Linked DNA regions of Homo sapiens: region 1 is linked to region 2. The links are contacts of gene promoters, found by promoter capture Hi-C in blood cells and fetal thymus (Javierre and others, 2016). All regions are on one chromosome and are shown on one strand. The core of a region is centred on a gene start or on the middle of the fragment in contact, and the rest is flanking DNA. Distances in the headings are between cores, read along the strand shown.

Region 1 (4,281 bases), core at 1,731-4,230, 810 kb after region 2:
CCATGAAAGAGAATGCACCCTAGGCTCTCTAGACCAAACTCAGGCATGCTTTACTTGTGGCGTGCATTCAAAAGGAGGAGAACATGGTGAAAATGTCTTGAACATCATTCTAGTAACCATAGTGATACCAAAGCAAACCTGGATCCTTATCTCATATCTTGTTTATTTTTCAGAAAGAATTTATTTACACATAGACCTTTAATTTTGAAAAAGATGCCCCTCTTTGTTATTTGATTGTGTAAGTGATGTTTTGTTGGCCTTGCTTCACAGCAAGTCTCTGTAATACCTCGGTATGTTGCCAGTGGCTGTCTCTGTCCTCACAAACAAATGTTCCATACTTGTCTGACCTGGGCAGCCAGGCTATGGGGTCCAAGGAAGGATAGAACACCTGGAAAGTGACAGCAATGTTTTTGGGGTCAGAACTCTCAAAGTGGAAAAGTTATTCAAGATCCAGCTGCAGAATGAATGAGCACGTTCTCTGCTTTTAAAAAAAAGTTTTATTTTTTAAAAAGAAGTAATAAAGCTGGGCATGGTGGTGCTCTCCTGTAGTCCCAGTTGCTCAGGAGGCTGAGATGGGAGGATTGCTTAAGCCCAGGAGTTTGAGACTAGCCTAAGCAATACAGTGAGACTCCATCTCTAAAAAAACAAAACAAAACAAAAAACAAAAACAAAAAAAGAAAGAAAGAAAAGAAAAAGGAGTAATAAAGAGAGATATTGGTGCCTCACTGCTCTAAAGGGCTTTGAGGAAACAGTTCTAGGCTCTCCACAGAATTTGGAAATGCATCCTGGGGGGGTGGACTGTGAAAAACATCTGAGACATAAGCTCTATGTGACACTTGGTGGGTACTCATGAACATTCAGGGTTCTTGAGGGCCTGAACTGCTTGTTTTGGTAGCCTTGCATTTTCAGGGCAACAATCCCTGGCATCGAGTGGACCCTCAAGAAATATTTGTTAGCTGCCAGATGCAACTTTCCGCTGTATTGTCAACACTTTTTCAAAACACGTCACTGAGGATTTCAGTAACTTCCCAGCAGCTACAAGGAATCTTGGGAACCTTTTCTCTAGGCAGAGCAGGCTATTTAATACCCCATTTGTAATAGGGTGATTTAAAGATACTTTGAAAGCCAATCTAAGAAAAGACATTTCTCCGATGGTGCCTGAAGTTCGATGCATAGAGGTTTTTCTTTCTGTTACCCTCACTAAGTTCTTTGAAAATGCCTACAGAAGGGGTGTTCATATCAGGCCCTTGTGCTTCACGAGAATAAGTTGATCGGGTAAAAATTTTCTCCATAAGAGAGACCACTATTGGGAGGGGGCAGCTGCCCAGTTAGGAGGGTTAGACTTGTCCTGCACCAATATTGTCAAGCAAGTGGGCTCAAGGGTCCCTCTGGACTCTCCTACTTAACCTTCACTATTGGCTTAAATATAGGAGTGACCATCCCCTCTCCAGAAACTGGCCTCAGTCCTGTAGCTTATTTCTTGGGATCAGTGACCCACCTCCACTTTCCACCACCTCCAGAGGCTCGAGAGAACCTGTCCCTGTCTAAACAGCCATTATTAAATGTGACTGTATTTTTTTCTCTATAGGAATGATGTATTTTCTATTTAAAAAAAAAAAAAAAAAACTCCCACAATCTTTGTGTGACTTGCATTTGAGAGCGGCCAAAGGACCTACTTGCAAAGCAGTGCAGAGGCTGACATTTACTGATAATCTGCCATGCACGAGGCACCCGGCCAGAGGGACGCTTCCTGTTCAAAATGACTGTTAGGCAGATGCTATCATTTCCATGTTACTGAGAACAAAGTTGAATCTCTGAGAGAGAAAAAAAGGAACATTCACAGGGTCACAAAGGTGGGTTGAATTCCAGAGACCCTGTTCTCTCTACAGCAAGGAAAATTACCCATACCCAGGAGAGCAGGGAAATGTCATAAATTCTTTGTATGCCCTCACTGCACTTTGCACAGGGCTTGGAGTCTTTGATGGAGAATGCATGTAACATAACCCACTGAAATTAAGCTTAAACAAAAATGATACTTTGCTGGGAGGGATCCTGGTCACCCCCTAAAATCCGAGGAAAGTTGAACAACCAGGCCTCAGTACCAAGAGTTCTTGGGTTTTATATCTGTCTAATGCTACACCCGCAACTGGACTAAATAACCTGCATCTCTGTCTCTTAGTCAGAGTTCTCAAGAGAGAGACCCTAATTGGCTCCTGGTCAGCCAATGAACTTCCTCCTCCTGAGTCAGGTGTTCACTTCTAGTCCAATCAGCTATGACCAAGAGTCAAGCAAAAGCAAAACTTCCGGGGGCTAATTCTGAAGTCTGCCCAATGGTGTCTACTGTACCCAGATATAATTCAATACATGTTTATTGTCTGGTGTTTTTTGTGTTCATTCGTTGCAACCAAGTTCTTTAAGAACCTTGGATACATCGTCCTTCATTTAATCATCAGGCGGGGGTTGATAGGCCATAGTGATCAAGAAAAATATGTGAAATTTCTATATGCCAGTTATCGCTGTGTTAAAAACCTTCAGAGCAAATTAAGAAAGGAGAAATAAACTATTTGTTCTCAAAAGCTTGGTTTCAAGGGGACCGAGGAAATGGGAAAAGCATCTGTGGACAAGGCTATTGTGCTTGCTGCTGGAAGACTACCAAGGCCAGTTACTAAACGGGTGGGCAGCAACAAGTAGTTGCTTTGTTTTTTTTTCCCCCATAGGAAGTTGTTGTCTCTGTTTTGCAAGTTTGTCAAATTTCTTTTGTTTCTGGGGTCAATAACCTAGATACTTGAGACTCTTTTTTTCCCCTTCCGAGGGTCCTAATTTTGCATTTTACGTAACACCAATCTTGACCAAAAGCTGATTTATTAAGGAGGTTTCTTCTGGGTTAGTTGTTGGTGCTGGAGGCTGCGTGTACATGACTTAGTCTTCTACTGCCACCATGAGGGAGATGCTGGAATTGCAAGGCTCTTTTAGTTATCAAATGTAAATTTTCATAAATGAAAGTGAGCACGTTTAAAATTATCTCTATCTATTTATCTATCTATCTGTCTGTCTATCATGTTCATATATATATAAAATGGAACAATCCACCTCCTAAAACATATCCTCTGAAAGGCTTAAAGAGATATATAGTATTGCCAAGTGTGTCTGAGTTAGGTAGGCGAGGGTTTGAGACCTGCCTCTGCCTACCACTACAACCGCCCTTACACTAGACATTTAAGTCTTCTAAGCCACAGGTGTAAAAATGGTCTGATAGTACCCATTTCACAGGGCTTGGTATTGAAAAAATGACATAGCCTGTGTCAGTCTCTAGCATTTGGTAAGTACTCAATAAATGATTACCATTGCTATCACCTGAAATTGACCACGGCTGAAAGTATTAGAAAAGCTTTCTGCAGGGAGAAAGAGGGGTGAGGGTGGAGGGTACCAGTAACCCCGTGAAAACAAACACCAGTGCACAACTGGAGTGGATGCTCAATAAACATATGAAAGGTTCAGGGGAAAGGGGTAAAGTCACCAGGGATGGCTCTAACAGCCAAAAGAGGGATGGAAAACACTCTTTTAAGCTGACCATTTTAGAGTCAAAGAACCAAAAATATAGAATGTTCGTGTGGTAAGGATTCTAGATATGTACTCCAGCTTTTTTTTTTTTTCAAGTGGGGCAACCGAGTGATTGAATCACTCTTCAAGTTAAAATGTTAATCAGCAGTAAAGTGGGACTAGAACCCAAGACTTTTGTTTTCTTTTCTTTTCTTTTTTTTTTTTTTTTGAGACAGGATCTAACTCTATTGCCCGGGCTGGAGTGCGATGGCACATTTGTAGCTCACTGTAACCTTGAAGCCCTGGGTTCAAACAATCCTTCCGCCTCAGCCTCCTGAGTAGCTGGGACTACACTCACACACCACTGTGCCCAGCTAATTTTTATTTTTTTGGGCAGAGACAGGAATCTCACTATATTGCCCAAGCTGGTCTGAAACTTCTGGCTTCAAGTGATCCTCCCGCCTTGGTCTCCTAAGGTGCTGGGATTACAGGCATGAGCCACTGTGCCCACCCCCTCAAGACTTTTGACAAATAATCCAGAGCTCTTTATATATAAGCACCAAAATATCAGTCAAGATTAGCCAAATCAGGATTGTCTTGGATTGAAAAAAAAAATGGGCAAGTTGCTTAACCTGATTATGCTTTAGTTTCATTACTGGCAAAATGGCAATCATAATATCCTACTGCAGGGGTTCTAGTAAAGACTGAGATGCCACATGGAAAGCATTTAGATTTGTGCAA
Region 2 (4,845 bases), core at 1,496-3,995:
TCTTTAGACGTGTGCCTGCAAGATGGCTGTCATTGTAAGTGAGCCATAGAAACGATGCTAAAATGTTGGCCTGCCATAAGATCATATTTTCAAAGGACAAGAATAATGTCCTTTGACATTGTTTGAAATCTGAAAGGAGAAAAAAATCAAGAATCTGAAGTGGGCCTTAAAAAAATCAGTAAGTCCCTTGTGACTCTGATTTTTATGAATCTGTCTCTCAAAAGCCAGGGTGCCCCCAGAAGAACTGAGACAAACTGAGTTTCTGAACATTTGAAAATGAGGAGCAGGCTCAGGATCCACAGGGTGTAACCATCCCGTGAGGCCCTGCCTGAGCAGCCAGCCAGTCAGTGAGGCTCTTCACCTTACTTCCATTTCTCTGATTCCATCTATGTACAACTTACGAAAACTTGCATTATTATAGACTGGGAGTTCTTAAATTGGAATCTGTGAATCTAAAGGGGCCAGAGGATAGAAATCAGGAAATCTGAAAACTTCGATGGAAAAAAGTTTTTATTTATTTCCATCAGGAAAATAGGCAACAAACCACAGCAGTATTAGTACCTGTGTCTCTGTCATCACTAGGAATCACAGATATCCACGTTACAGATATCTTAAAATATTTATGTACAGCACCACTCTGAAATTATGGTAATAATTAGATCCACCCCCTAGGTCTTGTAATCTTTAATATGTTAATAAAGAAGCACATCTATTATGTGACAGATTTAAATGTTTAAGAATTTGATTTCAATGAAATTGCATTTCAATAAAATTGGCTTCCTTTGCAATCCTGTGTATTTTATTTTGTGCATTTCTCCAGACTGCCAAAGAGGTTGGTGACACATTGAAAGTTAAGAGTCTCTGCTGTGGATCATGCATAGAAAGCTTTACAAAACAGTTGAGGGGAATAGGCTTTCCTGCATCCTTACCTTGGGCTGCAGCCTTTCCATTAGCTGGAGAAGGCAGCAGCTGGTGCCTATGAGTTGAGAGGGCAGTGGTCCCTTTGCCTAAGAACCATCCTGTTCCCACATATTCAAGGGTATGGAATTCCCATAATATTCAAAGAGTTTTTCTTTAGTTTTAGGTGATACGCCTTGAGTAGGAATATCATGAGGCTGTTTCCAGCTTCGAGTATGTTGGTGATAGGGTGTAAGGGATCTCAGAGCATCTAGTCTTGTCCATATCTTAAATCCAGGCACTGAGGTCCAGAGGGGAGTTATTTACCCAGGTCACATCAGATGAAGATAATGAAGTATTCCAAGAGGATTTTAGTTTTATTCCAAATAGGGTAAGTGTTCTGAGAGTGTGAGGAGAGAAGGTGAGGAGGCTGGGGTAAGGATGGGCATAGAAGGGGATGGAAAGGAGGGCTGAGAGAACTCAGAACCAAATTTCAGGCTATCACTTTCTCCACGCCACATTCCAGTGCCTTGCCATCAACTCTTCTGTGAATCTTCAGGAATTTTATTAATTCCCCAGGACCAACTTAGACTTTCATAAGTTAGATGTAGTTATATTACTTCCCTGAAGCACTTTTATGCACAAAGAATAGATGTAGCAAACAAACTTCACAAGATTTAATTTTTGAGTTTCCTTTTTTATTCTGAGGAATTCCGCTGTAATTCTCAGTGACACAGAACCTCTAGAGCTACTTCACTATGACAACCTTCTTCAAATCTCCAAAGGGCTGTTACATAAGGAAGAGGGTCGGAGTTCTGTATTCAATCAAGAAGGCAGAAGATTGAGATGATAAGTTGCTACAGGGAGGCATAATTTAAAGTCAATTTAAACTGTAATCCCAGCACTTTGGGAGGCAGAGGCGGGAGGATTGCTTTGAGCTCAGGAATTCAAGACCATCCTGGGCAACACAGTGAAACCCCGTCTCTACAAAAAAAAAATAGTCGGGTGAGGTGGCACACACCTGTAATCCCAGCTACTTGGGAGGTTGAGGCTGGAGAATCGCTTGAACCCAGGAGGCAGGAGGCAGAGGTTGCAGTGAGACGGGATGGTGCCACTGCACTCCAGCCTGGGCGACCGACTGAGATCCTGTATTTAAAAAAAAAATAAGGTCAGTTTAAGTTTCGTTCCTGGGATTGAGCGGATTGCCTTGCATTAGGCAAGGTTTTAAGTGCTTTCCAACTCTGGAATTCTATACCTTTCCCAGTAGATATCTAAACCCAGCAAATCCTGGGCCTGAAGTTTAAAACTAGGATCCTCGTCTCCCAACCACATCTAGATGATCCCATAGTGTAATGAAGGGTGCTTGGGCTTTGACACCAGGCAAACTTGGATTTTGACCTGGGACAACTAAGTCACTTGACCTCACTGAACCTTAGCTCCCTCCACTGACAGTGGGGACAGTCTGCTGGAGGGTGTGTAGAAGACCTCGGGTTGCCTTTTGGAGGTTCTGGAAATGTCCCTTGAAAGATGAATGGAGTTAATTTAAAAATCTTCGCCTTCTGTAATTTTGGCTTCTTGCAAACACGCTTCCTGCCAGTCCTGCTCCGTCAGGCGGGAGGCAGCAAACCCCAGCCCTGGCTCCAGGACAGGGCCGAAGGCAGGATAGACGGAGCAACGGGTCCGGCTGCCGCCGGGATGTTGCAGCACAGGGCCTCCTGGCTGCCTGGCCTACAGGCCGCCCGGATTCAGCCGGAGGGCATGGACCGGGTGGAGTCCTGCAAGGCGAGAAGGGACACAGCGCATGCGCGCGGCAGGGAGGGCGTTTCCAGGAGGGAGCGGCCTTTGCTCAGCGCGAGACGGCTGGGCGCCGAGTGGGACAGCGCTGGTGCGGAGACTGCTTCCGGACTCCAGGTACCGCGCTTGGCGGCAGCTGGCCCCAGACTTCTGTCTTTTCAGCTGCAGTGAAGGCTCGGGGCTGCAGGTGAGCTGTGCATCCCGCAATGGAGACCTTCCTGCTCTGAATTTTCTTACAAAACTGCAGAAATATAAGGGGCGTTGCTTAGCGGGCATCCCCTCCCCCGCGCCAAACCTGTACAGCAAACGATGATGCAGAGGACCTTGAGGGGATTTTGCAGGGCATCGGTCTTACCTCCGCGGTATCATTTTTCTCCTCCTCCCGAGTTTCTGCCTTCTGGTATCCCTAAATATCCCACCTATCCTGCCTCCTACCTTCCTGGATCTGGGGTGGTGGGGTGGGCTCATGGACCATTGCAAAATGCTTGGCAGGATTTTAACCTTCTCAGCACCACCCAGACCCCACTCGAAAATGTGCCTTTTGTGCCCTCCAAGAGCTCAAGGGTAGGTAATTGTTATATCTTTAGCATGTGAAAATGCTTTTTATGTAACAGTTCACCGAAAATCTCTTAATTCTCCGAATTTTGGAGGATTTGGGGCGGGCAGCGAGGCTGTCCCCTGTCACCTTGTTTTGTACCTGGTATGGTAAATCGTTTTGCTGCATTGCATCCAAGATGCGTTTTAGTCCTTCCAAGGCTTGAGCATCACATTTGTGATGAGAGCGTGTGATGTGCTGTGCACATCCTCTCCCACCTTATCCCTTCCATGTTAACACAGCCTCTGGCTTTAATGTGTGCTTCTGGCCTGGCCACATGGCTCCGTCATGGAATAGGTGATTCTTTTGTCTGAATATTCTCTGTGAGAACAGAATCTTCTTGCAAGCATTGGGAGTAGATTTATTTTGCCTCTTTAGAACAACAGTCAGTTCGCTAAGGAGATTAAGGGGCTACCTGTTTCCTGGCAATAAAGCTGTATTGGGTAGGTCAGTTACAGAATGTCTTCAGGCAGAAGCTGTTCCTTTGGTTCACTCACTCATTTATTCATTTAACAAGTATTTTAAGTACCTGCCTTGTGCATGGCAGGGTTCTTGGTGCTGTGAGGAGGACAAAGATAAACTGAACCTTGGTTTGCCCTCAAGGAGCTTGGCTGGCTGAGAGTTGAGAGAATCCCAACCAAGTAAAAGGGTATGGGTCCTCAAGAGAAGATCGCAGGAAGAGCTGGGGGGCTCAGGATGGAGTGGAATTAATCTTTCACAACAGCTACTTAGCTTTAGGAGAAAATTAGGTCTAGAAGTTACACCTGATAATGAAAGAACTCTCATAAGCTTCAGATCTGTATGTAAGGGTGTTTTCCGGACTGTGTGTTGGGCGTCTCAGACTGAATACATTCTAAACAGGTCCCATCATTCCTAGCCACCTCCCTCTTCCCACCGCCACACACCTGCTGCTGTTCCCATGTTCTCTGTCTCAGGGAATAGCATGAGGCTCCCCGACTCCCTACTTCTCCTAATGGTCTAAGCCAGATACCTAGGGGTGAGTCATCTCTGATTCACCCCTGACTTTCCCTTCCCGCCTCAAATTCAATTCTGATTCTACCTCCTGAACTTCTGAAATCTGTCCACCTTCTCTCCATTCTCATTGCCATTTCTCTAGATAAGCCTACCGTTATCAACTAAGCTCTTGCTTACTTTACTGCAACAGCTTCCCGATTTATCTCCCTGCCTCACTTCACAACCCATCTTCACTACTGCAACTGGGAAGTGCTTGCTGGAATTTAAATCTGATTGTGAGGCTCCCTTCAGTGATCCTTCATTGCCCTTAGGACGGAACCAGACTCCCTTTACGGGGCTTATGTGGGTGTACAGCCCTGTCTTTCTCACCAGCACCCTCTCTTTTCACAAGCCCCTTGCACTTTTCATTTTGAGAACATGCTTTCTTGTGCCATTAGGGCCTTGCACATGCGCTCCCTTCTGCCAGGAACACCCTTCCCTGCACCCTCTTCACTTGACTTATTCATGCTCCCCTGTAGGGTAAATGCACCTGACAGCAATAATTAAAGCATACCCTTAGAATGACCCTGTGTGGCAGATGAACC

Evidence for each region. Contacts are between HindIII fragments. The CHiCAGO score rates a contact against its expected background, and 5 or more counts as called.
Region 1: a contact is called between a fragment that was not itself captured here and the fragment with the promoter of TMEM14A in region 2, in 1 of 17 cell types (erythroblasts). The highest score is 8.2, in erythroblasts.

What each region holds. Positions count from the first base shown.
Region 1 is chr6:53,481,896-53,486,176 of GRCh38, forward strand. The region is part of intron 3 of GCLC-AS1 (GCLC antisense RNA 1); the gene reads left to right. Among named protein-coding and RNA genes, the nearest start is that of GCLC-AS1, 53 kb to the left of the region's middle. The HindIII fragment of the contact is 811 bases long and covers 2,576-3,386 here.
Region 2 is chr6:52,668,368-52,673,212 of GRCh38, forward strand. TMEM14A (transmembrane protein 14A) reads left to right here and starts at 2,746. Exons shown (of 5, transcript NM_014051.4): 1 at 2,746-2,878. It overlaps LOC730101 (a long non-coding RNA gene), which reads left to right. Exons shown (of 3, transcript NR_024405.1): 3 at 1-786. RefSeq lists enhancers at 1,962-2,462, 2,451-2,610. The HindIII fragment of the contact is 3,190 bases long and covers 884-4,073 here.